2 separate regions of the Homo sapiens genome follow, and region 2 is linked to region 1. Evidence: promoter capture Hi-C in 16 types of primary human blood cells and fetal thymus (Javierre and others, 2016). All regions are on one chromosome and are shown on one strand. Each heading gives the region's core, a stretch centred on a gene start or on the middle of the fragment in contact. The rest is flanking DNA. Distances are from core to core; before and after follow the strand shown.

The links. The method cuts DNA at HindIII sites, captures the fragments that hold promoters and counts their contacts. A CHiCAGO score of 5 or more calls a contact.
Region 2: a contact is called between a fragment that was not itself captured here and the fragment with the promoter of SUPT6H in region 1, in 1 of 17 cell types (activated CD4 T cells). The highest score is 5.8, in activated CD4 T cells.

Annotation. Positions count from the first base shown.
Region 1 is chr17:28,659,281-28,663,685 of GRCh38, reverse strand. It overlaps SUPT6H (SPT6 homolog, histone chaperone and transcription elongation factor), which reads right to left and starts at 1,481. Exons shown (of 37, transcript NM_003170.5): 1 at 1,344-1,481. It overlaps SDF2 (stromal cell derived factor 2), which reads left to right and starts at 1,780. Exons shown (of 3, transcript NM_006923.4): 1 at 1,780-1,960. The coding sequence starts at 1,810. RefSeq lists enhancers at 691-1,365, 1,463-1,532, 894-2,093. The HindIII fragment of the contact is 397 bases long and covers 1,162-1,558 here.
Region 2 is chr17:28,927,979-28,932,247 of GRCh38, reverse strand. All of the region lies in intron 2 of PHF12 (PHD finger protein 12), which reads left to right. All of the region lies in intron 1 of LOC101927018 (a long non-coding RNA gene), which reads right to left. Among named protein-coding and RNA genes, the nearest start is that of PHF12, 21 kb to the left of the region's middle. The HindIII fragment of the contact is 610 bases long and covers 1,988-2,597 here.

The DNA of each region.
Region 1 (4,405 bases), core at 232-2,731:
GAACATAATTTGTATGCTGATGGGAACAGTTTCAGGGAGAGACAGGATTTGGTGACTGATTTTATTGGGAAATAGTGGACAGGAAGGAAGACAAGGATTACAGGCAGGACTGATGGTAGTGCCATTTATTAAGGTCAAGAATATAGAATCAGGGCAAACGTATTTGCCTACAAAGATCATGTTTCCACCACACTAGGTAGGCTTTCAGAGGAAGAACTGTAAAATTTGACTAAGCCTCTCCAGACGGTACCACTTTCTGATGTAATTAATCTCCTGATGAAGTTAAAACCTCCTAGAGTTGCAAGGCTATGCTAATCCAATCTAGCAGCCACACAAGCCAAGTGAATAAAAATGTACTTGTACTGGTGAAAGGGACATTACTCGTAAAAAAGGGCTCTAAATTCACAGCTGATGGAAGAGCAGTTATGTTTCTGTAATCAAAACACTGAAGACTTACAAACTGGTAACTTCCAGATAAACAGTGGAACCAGACATTTTTCCGAAGAAATTAATCAAATTCAATATTGTTTACACTCCCTAATGCTCATTAATGATGTAGCTTCATACACCCTTGTTACTTTTGATATTACAGTGAATTTCCACGGAAGTATTTTCAGAGATCTTAGCCCTCTGAAATAAGTATCAGTTCTTGCAACAACCCAGGAAAATTAACTTCTCCAGCTGGTTCAAAGGAGTGCCTGAGGAGAAAGGTAGAAACTAGAAGATGGAGTTTTGACTTAATAACTAATTTTGATGTTCATGATAGGCCTCTGGCAAACGTTTGAGGAAATGAATCTATAGAGAATGGACGGGCTTTAGGACTTCTACAAGACCTTCGATCTTTAGAAAGGGATGAAGGATGCAACCATCTACAAAAAGTTCTATTTGTATTATTCAGCAATATGTAAAGAGCTGGAATTTGGCATCGCCCTCTAGCCTGATGGCCGAGCTGCTGAAAGCTCCACAGGATTCATATCCCCAGAACAAACAACTCGATCACCTGATCCTGGCTCAGAAGCCCCAGGTCCCTTCCATCCCCAATCCTTTTGCGTGGCCCAGTTTTAAAAACCTGCGGAGAGAAGGACGGGATGCCAGGAAGCCTGTTGATTCAACGTGCCACCCGATTCACGGGTTCCGGGTGTCACTGGGCTGGGAAAAGCTTTCGGACTCTGAGCAACTACAGCGCTTTCCTCCCCCTTCCCCCCATAGAGCAGGGAAGGCCAGGCTCCCCCTTCTTCCCGCATACGGCTCCCCACTGCCTCTTCCCTTACGTGACCAGGCCCTAGGAGCCCGGTTCCCCACCTGACTCCTGCGAGAAACACGCTCTCCAGTCGGAACTTTACCTGTCTGAAGCCCGCCGCTCCTCCAGTGCGCTAAGCCCCCACCGAGGAAAATGGAGTCGTCGAACCGAGACTGGGAAAAGATAGTACGGACCCACCGCACGGCCCCTCCGCCGCCACCGCCGCCGCTGCTGCGTCAACGTGCTACGTCATTTCCGGCTCCCTGTCACCGGGAGTGGGCGGGCCATTTCTTGTTCTCTCTCCCGCTCTCGGAAGCTTTCGTCTCGTGGGTGCGAAAGGTAACCGAAGCGGCTCAGGAAGGCAGCTGTCACTGAGCCCCTGGAACAGAGCGAGAGTATCGTAAGTAACCAGGCTCAGCCGGTTTCTCAGGCCGCTCTAGTCAAATAAACCATAAAGATCAGACTCGGGCTTCTTCACTTCCTTCTCTCCGTGGTTTCGCCATTAGCTTCCGGTTCCGGGGAGGGGCCGAGTTTTCTTCGAAGATTTGGGGCTCCGCGATACAGTTAGGATGGCTGTAGTACCTCTGCTGTTGTTGGGGGGTTTGTGGAGCGCTGTGGGAGCGTCCAGCCTGGGTGTCGTTACTTGCGGCTCCGTGGTGAAGCTACTCAATACGCGCCACAACGTCCGACTGCACTCACACGACGTGCGCTATGGGTCAGGTAATGCTGGGGACCGGGCTCGGGTGGGCTAGGGAGGACTCGGAGGCTCTGGAGGGGCGGGGCCTATAGAATATCTGACAGTGTGGTCTGGGAAAGTTAGGGGTTCCCTGGGAAGGTTCCTCAGGTCTAGAGAGTCGGAGAACTGAATTGTTCTAAGGCATCTTAATCGCAACACCACCTAATATTTGGTGAGCTACAGGCCAGGCACGTTACCTATGTCCTTTTTCCGATTATTAACATTGTTGTAAGGTGGACAGTATTGTTATCCTCATTTCACAGATGAGGAAACAGACGCAGAGAAATTAAATCGTTTATTCAAAGCCTTGCAGTTAGCAAATGACAAAGTCGGGGTTCTATCCAAATCTATCCAGGTTCAAAGCCTGCTTTAGAGACAAGAAAATTACAGTAAGTGCTGTGTCTGAAATTTTAAAGTTACAGTAAGTACTGTCTGTGAAACTTTAAACTCCAAGAGCTCACTCGTTGACTACAACCCTTTGTCTTCCAGCTCTTCTGCATCTTACACTTGCTCCTCAGTTTCCATCTTTGGCCCCCTTCTACCCAAACCTTAACCTCCTTCTTGTAAGAAACTTGGAGCAGTGACAGGAATTGCAGAGAAAACTGCTTTTTTTTTTTTTTTTTTTTAGCGTTTGAAATTAAAATGTTTAGTAATAAATTATTTGTGGATTCATTCAGCATAGGTCTTAATGAGTTCCTACTACATGGCTAGAATTGTACTACATACAGGAGATTCGGTGGTGATAATCAGTCAAGAAAATTACAATATAATAAAAACAGACTAAAAAAAGAAAGTCTTATCTGCCTGAAAAAAAAAGATAAAGTTAAAAAAAAAGAATGAAGGTCAGCTAGTGAGATGTGAGAGGCATCTAAGATAGCTGGTAGATTTTTGTCTTGAATGACTGATGATGCTGTTTGCTGAGGGAGGAAAGAGTTCTGTCAGGTGGGCTAGTCTGGTTCATGATTCCCAAAACCCATCTGATCAGTCAGACTAGGCAAGGACATGAGTTATCATCACTGCGATGTCTTAATAATTCTAGCACCCATTCAGTGAACACCTACCATGTTGTCAGGCTTATTTTTTACTTTGTTTTGGTTTCCTACTTTGGATCTACTGAATTAGAGTGGAGGTGGACAGAGGCTTGGCAGTAGCAATCTGTAGGTTTAAAAAGCTCTTCAGGTGGTTCTGATGGACAGCCAGATTTGGGAACCAGGTTCAGTCCGGAGCTCAGAAAAGGGATCTGTGCTGAGCCTGAGATACAACATTAAATATAACATCTTGTACAGACTGTGGTTGAAGATGTCAGGGTTGTAGATGAAATTGCCCAGAATGAACTGTGATTCTCTATCTGGGATTAATTTGAATAACTGGAGAAACTTGTTAAAAATACAAATGCTTTTGTCCTGACCCTCAACAATTGTTTAAGAACTACAGGTAGCCCTCTCCGTCTCCCTCTCTTGTCTCTTCTCTCTTTCCACGGTCTCCCTCTGTTGCCGAGGCTGGACTGTACTGCCGTGATCTCGGCTCGCTGCAACCTCCCTGCCTGGGGCTCCCGTGATTCTCCTGCCACGGCCTGCCGAGTGCCTGGGATTGCAGGCACACGCCGCCATGCCTGACTGGTTTTCGTATTTTTGGTGGAGACGGGGTTTCGCCGTGTTGGCTGGGCTGGTCTCCAGCTCCTGACCTCGAGTGATCTGCCTGCCTCAGCCTCCCGAGGTGCTGGGATTGCAGATGGAGTCTTGCTCACTCAGTGCTCAGTGTTGCCCAGGCTGGAGTGCAGTGGTGTGATCTTGGCTCACTACAACTTCCACCTCCCAGCCGCCTGCCTTGGCCTCCCAAAGTGCTAAGAGTACAGCCTCTGCCCGGCCGCCACCCCGTCTAGGAAGTGAGGAGCGTCTCTGCCTGGCCGCCCATCGTCTGGGATGTGAGGAGCGCCTCTGCCTGGCCGCCCCGTCTGGGATATGAGGAGGGCCTCTGCCCGGCCGCCACCCCGTCTGGGAAGTGAGGAGCACCTCTGCCCGGCCATCACCCTGTCTGGGATGTGAGGAGCGTCTCTGCCTGGCCGCCCTGTCTAGGAAGTGAGGAGCGCCTCTGCCTGGCCGCCCCGTCTGGGAAGTGAGGAGCGCCTCTGCCCGGCCGCGCCATCTGGGATGTGAGGAGTGCCTTTGCCCGGCTGCCACCCCATCTGGGAAGTGGGCTGCCCATTATCTGGGAGGTGAGGAGCACCTCTGCCCGGCCACCCCATCTGGGAAGTGGGGAGCACCTGGCCGCCCTGTCTGGGATGTGAGGAGCGCCTCTGCCCGGCCGCCACCCCATCTGGGAAGTGGGGAGCGCCTCTGCCCGGCTGCCCCGTCTGGGAAGTGGGGAGCGCCTCTGCCCGGCCGCCCTGTCTGGGAAGTGGGGAGCGCCTCTGCCCGGCTGCCCCGTCT
Region 2 (4,269 bases), core at 1,043-3,542, 270 kb before region 1:
AGGTGGGAGGACTGCTTGAGCCTAGGGGGTCAAGGCTTCAGTGAGCCAAGATTGCCCCACTGCACTCCAGCCTGGGTGACAGAGTGAGACCCTGCCTCAAAAAAAAGATAGAAGTTTGAATTGAAAAGCTGCCTTCTAAATAGCTTGAAAGGAATTAATTGCTTGAAGCAGAGAGGAAACATGGTCATGAGAAAGCTTTATGATGGGTGATTCTTGTGTTCCAGCTATGCCTATGATGATCATTTTCTAAGACCTTTCTTTCCTATCCATCTAATCTTAGATATTACTGCCTTCTCCCAAGATACCATCATTTCAAATTTGTTATTTCAAGATGCATGTTCTGTCCCTAAGAAAGCAGCAAATCTTGGCCAGGCACAGTGGCTCACACCTGTAATCCCAGTACTTTGGGAGGCCGAGGTAGGCAGATTACTTGAGGTCAGGAGTTCGAGACCAGCCTGGCCAACATGGTGAAACCCCATCTCTAAAAAAAAAACAAAAATTAGCTGGACATGGGGGCAGGCACCTGTAATCCCAGCTACTCGGGAGGCTGAGGCAGGAGAATCACTTGAACCCAGGAGGCAGAGGTTGCAGTGAGCCGAGATCACGCCACTGAACTCCAGCTTGGGTGATACGGTGAGACTACATCTCAAAACAAACAAAAAAAAAGCAGATCTTAAGAAGTGATGGCCTCAGCCAGGTGCAGTGGCTCACGCCTGTAATCCCAGTACTTTGGGAGGCTGAGGTGGGTGGATCACTTGAGGTTAGGAGGTCAAGACCAGCCTGGCCAACATGGTGAAACCCCATCTCTACTAAAAATATAAAAATTAGCCGGGTGTGATGGCGGGCAACCTGTAATCCCAGCTACTCGGGAGGCTGAGGCAAGGGAATCGCTTGAACCCTGGAGGCAGAGGTTGCAGTGAGCCAAGATCGCGCCACTGCACTCCAGCCTGGGCAACTGAGCAAGACTCCGTCTCAAAAAAAAAAAAAAAAAGGAATGATGGCCTCAGTCTTTTAAATGTTTTGTCTTCATCTGGGAGACAATGCTTGGGTTTCCCTGGACTACTCCCTAAATTCATAGCCCCTATCCATACTTTAGGGCAGGCTTAACAAAGGGAGCCTGTGGTCATTATCTAGAGTTCTGAGGAATGTGTGGTTTTGTTTGTTTGTTTTTTGTTGTTGTTATTTTTGAGACAGGGTCTCACTCTGTTGCCCAAACTGGAGTGCAGTGGCACGATCACGGCTCTACCTCCCAGGCTCAAGTGATCCTCTCACCTCAGCCCCACAAGTAGCTGGGGCTATAGGCTCATGCCGCCTCACCTGGCTAATTTTTTGTATTTTTAGTAGAGGTGGGGTTTCACCATGTCGCCCAGGCTGGTCTTGAACTCCTGGGCTCAAGCAATCCACCCACCTCGGCCTCACAAAGTGCTGGTATTACAGGCATGAGCTACTGCACCCGGCCAGAAGTGTGTTCTTAAACTTGGTAACTCTAAAAGTGATCCTTTAGAAACTAGCAAGATGCTACTTCTGAGAGCCTCTTAATACAAGTTTAAGCATTTTACCTTGTGTTAAGATAAACGATATTGAAAATCAAATTGTTTAAAGAAGATTAAAATGAGTAGAGGTGGGATGGTTCAGTAAGTACAGGCTTGCCAGTATGGACTTGGACTCCTCTTCTGTCTCATTGTGTAGTAACTTAGAAAACATAAGTAATTTCATGTGTGATTTAACCCACAAAACAGTTGCCTGCCCCATTGCATTACCTCCCCTCATAGCTTTGAAGGATTACACTCACTTCCTAGAAGCCCATTCCTTAGTGTTCCCCAGTTCTTTAAAGCTTTATTGAGTACTTACTACATGCCAGGCATTGTACAGGGTGTGGAGGTACAAAGGCAAATGAGGCATGGAGAAGGGGATTCAGACATGTAATGGTTTGAATACAGTGTGGTGCAGAAGTGCTCTGTGGAACCAGAGACTTTCAGAGAAAGCTTCCTGGAAAGAATACGTGACTTGAGTCTCAAAAGATAAAGAGCTTACCAGGTGAAGTAGTTAGGGAAGAGTGGTGTAGTTGTGGGTAGCAGCCCTGGAGTGAGCAGAGACACAGATGAGAAACAGTATGGTCTGTGTAGGGAGCCGGCCAACTGATTGAGCTGGAGAAAGAAGAGGGTTCTGGCCACAGGGGTCTTATCTTCTCTACTTTAAATGTTTTAAATGTTTGATGTAGGATATCTTGGTACAAAGCCAGTGGGCAGATGAACAGAAATGATGAGAAACAGAATCAGAAGTGACACCCTTCAGGGTTAATTTTGATAGGACAGCTACTGAAGCATAGCAGAGTCTGTAGGCCTTTGAAAATTACTTGCATGCATTTCAGTAGTTTAGATGTGGCCTTTTGTAGAATTACATTGGCTAGAATGAGCGGAGACTTACAGGTGACATTCACCTGTGGTCCTCTAGGGCTTGGAGATCTGTCCCAGCAGGCCATTGTTTTTCCAGTTTCCTGATTCCTGGTAAGCATCCTCCTGAGATTTCACTAAGGAAACAGGGAGGAAGGGAAGTAATGAGCTGTGAAGCCTTGGTGGGCATCTGACATGTAAGCTTGGGGCTCTGGGGAAACAGGGAGCTAAGAAAATTTGCCAAGTCAAGTGCTATTTTATGTAGAAATGGTAAAACAGCATAGCTTTAAGCTCTGAGATACTCAAGTTTGGCTGGGCACAGTGGCTCACGCCTGTACACCCAGCACTTTGGGAGGCCGAGGTTGGTGGATCACCTGAGGTCAGGAGTTCAAGACCAGTCTGACCAACATGGAGAAACCCCATCTCTACTAAAAATACTAAAAAATTTGCCAGGCATGGTGGCGCATGCTTGTAATCCTAGCTACTCAGGAGGCTGAGGCGGGAGAATTGCTTGAACATGGGAGGCGGAGGTTGCAGTGAGCCAAGATCGCACCATTGCACTCCAGCCTGGGCAACAAGAGCAAAACTCCATCTCAAAAAAAAATACTCAATTTTTTTTTTTTTTTACCATTTCCCCCATTATTTGAAGAAAAATTTCCTGCATACCATTCCAAGTAGGTGACTTAGCCAAGAACTCAATGGTAGGAATTTCTTAAGCATAAATGTGGTTTTTGTTGTTGTTGTTGTTGTTTTGTTTTTGAGACAGAGTCTCACTCTGTCGCCCAGGCTGGAGTGCAGTGGCACTGTCTCGGCTCACTGCAACCTCCACTTCCCAGGTTCAAGCGATTCTCCTGCCTCGGCCTCCTGAGTAGCTGGGACTACAGGCGCGTGCCACTACACCCGGCTAATTTTTGTATTATTAGTAGAGACAGGGTTTCACCATGTTGGCCAGGCTGTTCTCAAACTCCTGACGTCGTGTTCTGCCTGCCTCGGCCTCCCAAAGTGCTGGGATTACAAGTGTAAGCCACCATGCCTGGCCTGTTTTTTGGTTTGGTTTGTTTGTTTGTTTGTTTGTTTTGAGATGGAGTTTTGTCACGCAGGCTGGAGTGCAATGACATAATCTTGGCTCACTGCAACTTCCGCCTCCCGAGTTCAAAGGATTCTCCTGCCTCAGCCTCCCAAGTAGCTGGGATTACAGGTGCCCACCACCACGCCCAGCTAATTTTTGTATTTGTAATAGAGATGGGGTTTCACCGTGTTAGCCAGGCTGGTCTTGAACTTCCAATCTCAGGTGATCTGCTGTGTGCACAACCTCTGTATTATAAAAATACAAGGAGGGAAGAGATCCAATCATTGTCCTAGTCCCTCTAATAAAATAAGTAAGAGAACTGCTGAAATGGGCAAAGCATGAGAAGTGCCAAAAGAGAACTAACCCATGCAGCAAGAGGTCCAAGATACAGGAGTAATATGAACTCATGGAAAAGCTGTTTGGTTATCTATTGTTGCATAACAAACTACGCCAAAACTCATTGGCCTGGTACAGAAACTCATTATTATCTCTCACAGTTCTGAGGGTTGCCTGGGCTCTGCTGGGTGGTTTTTCTGTTTCACATGATGTTGGCTGGGACTGCAGTCATTTGGAGGCTTCACTGAACTGGTAAGTCCAAGATGACTCACTCACATAGCAGTAGTTGCTGCTGCGTGTTGGCTTGGAGTTCAGCTGAAGCTGGTTTTTTGTTTTCTCAAGATGGAGTTTCACTCTGTTGCCCAGGCTAGAGTGCAGTGGTGTGATCTTGGTTCACTGCAACCTCCACCTCCCAAATTCAAGCAATTCTTCTGCCTCAGCCTCCCAAATAGCTGGGATTACAGGCATGTG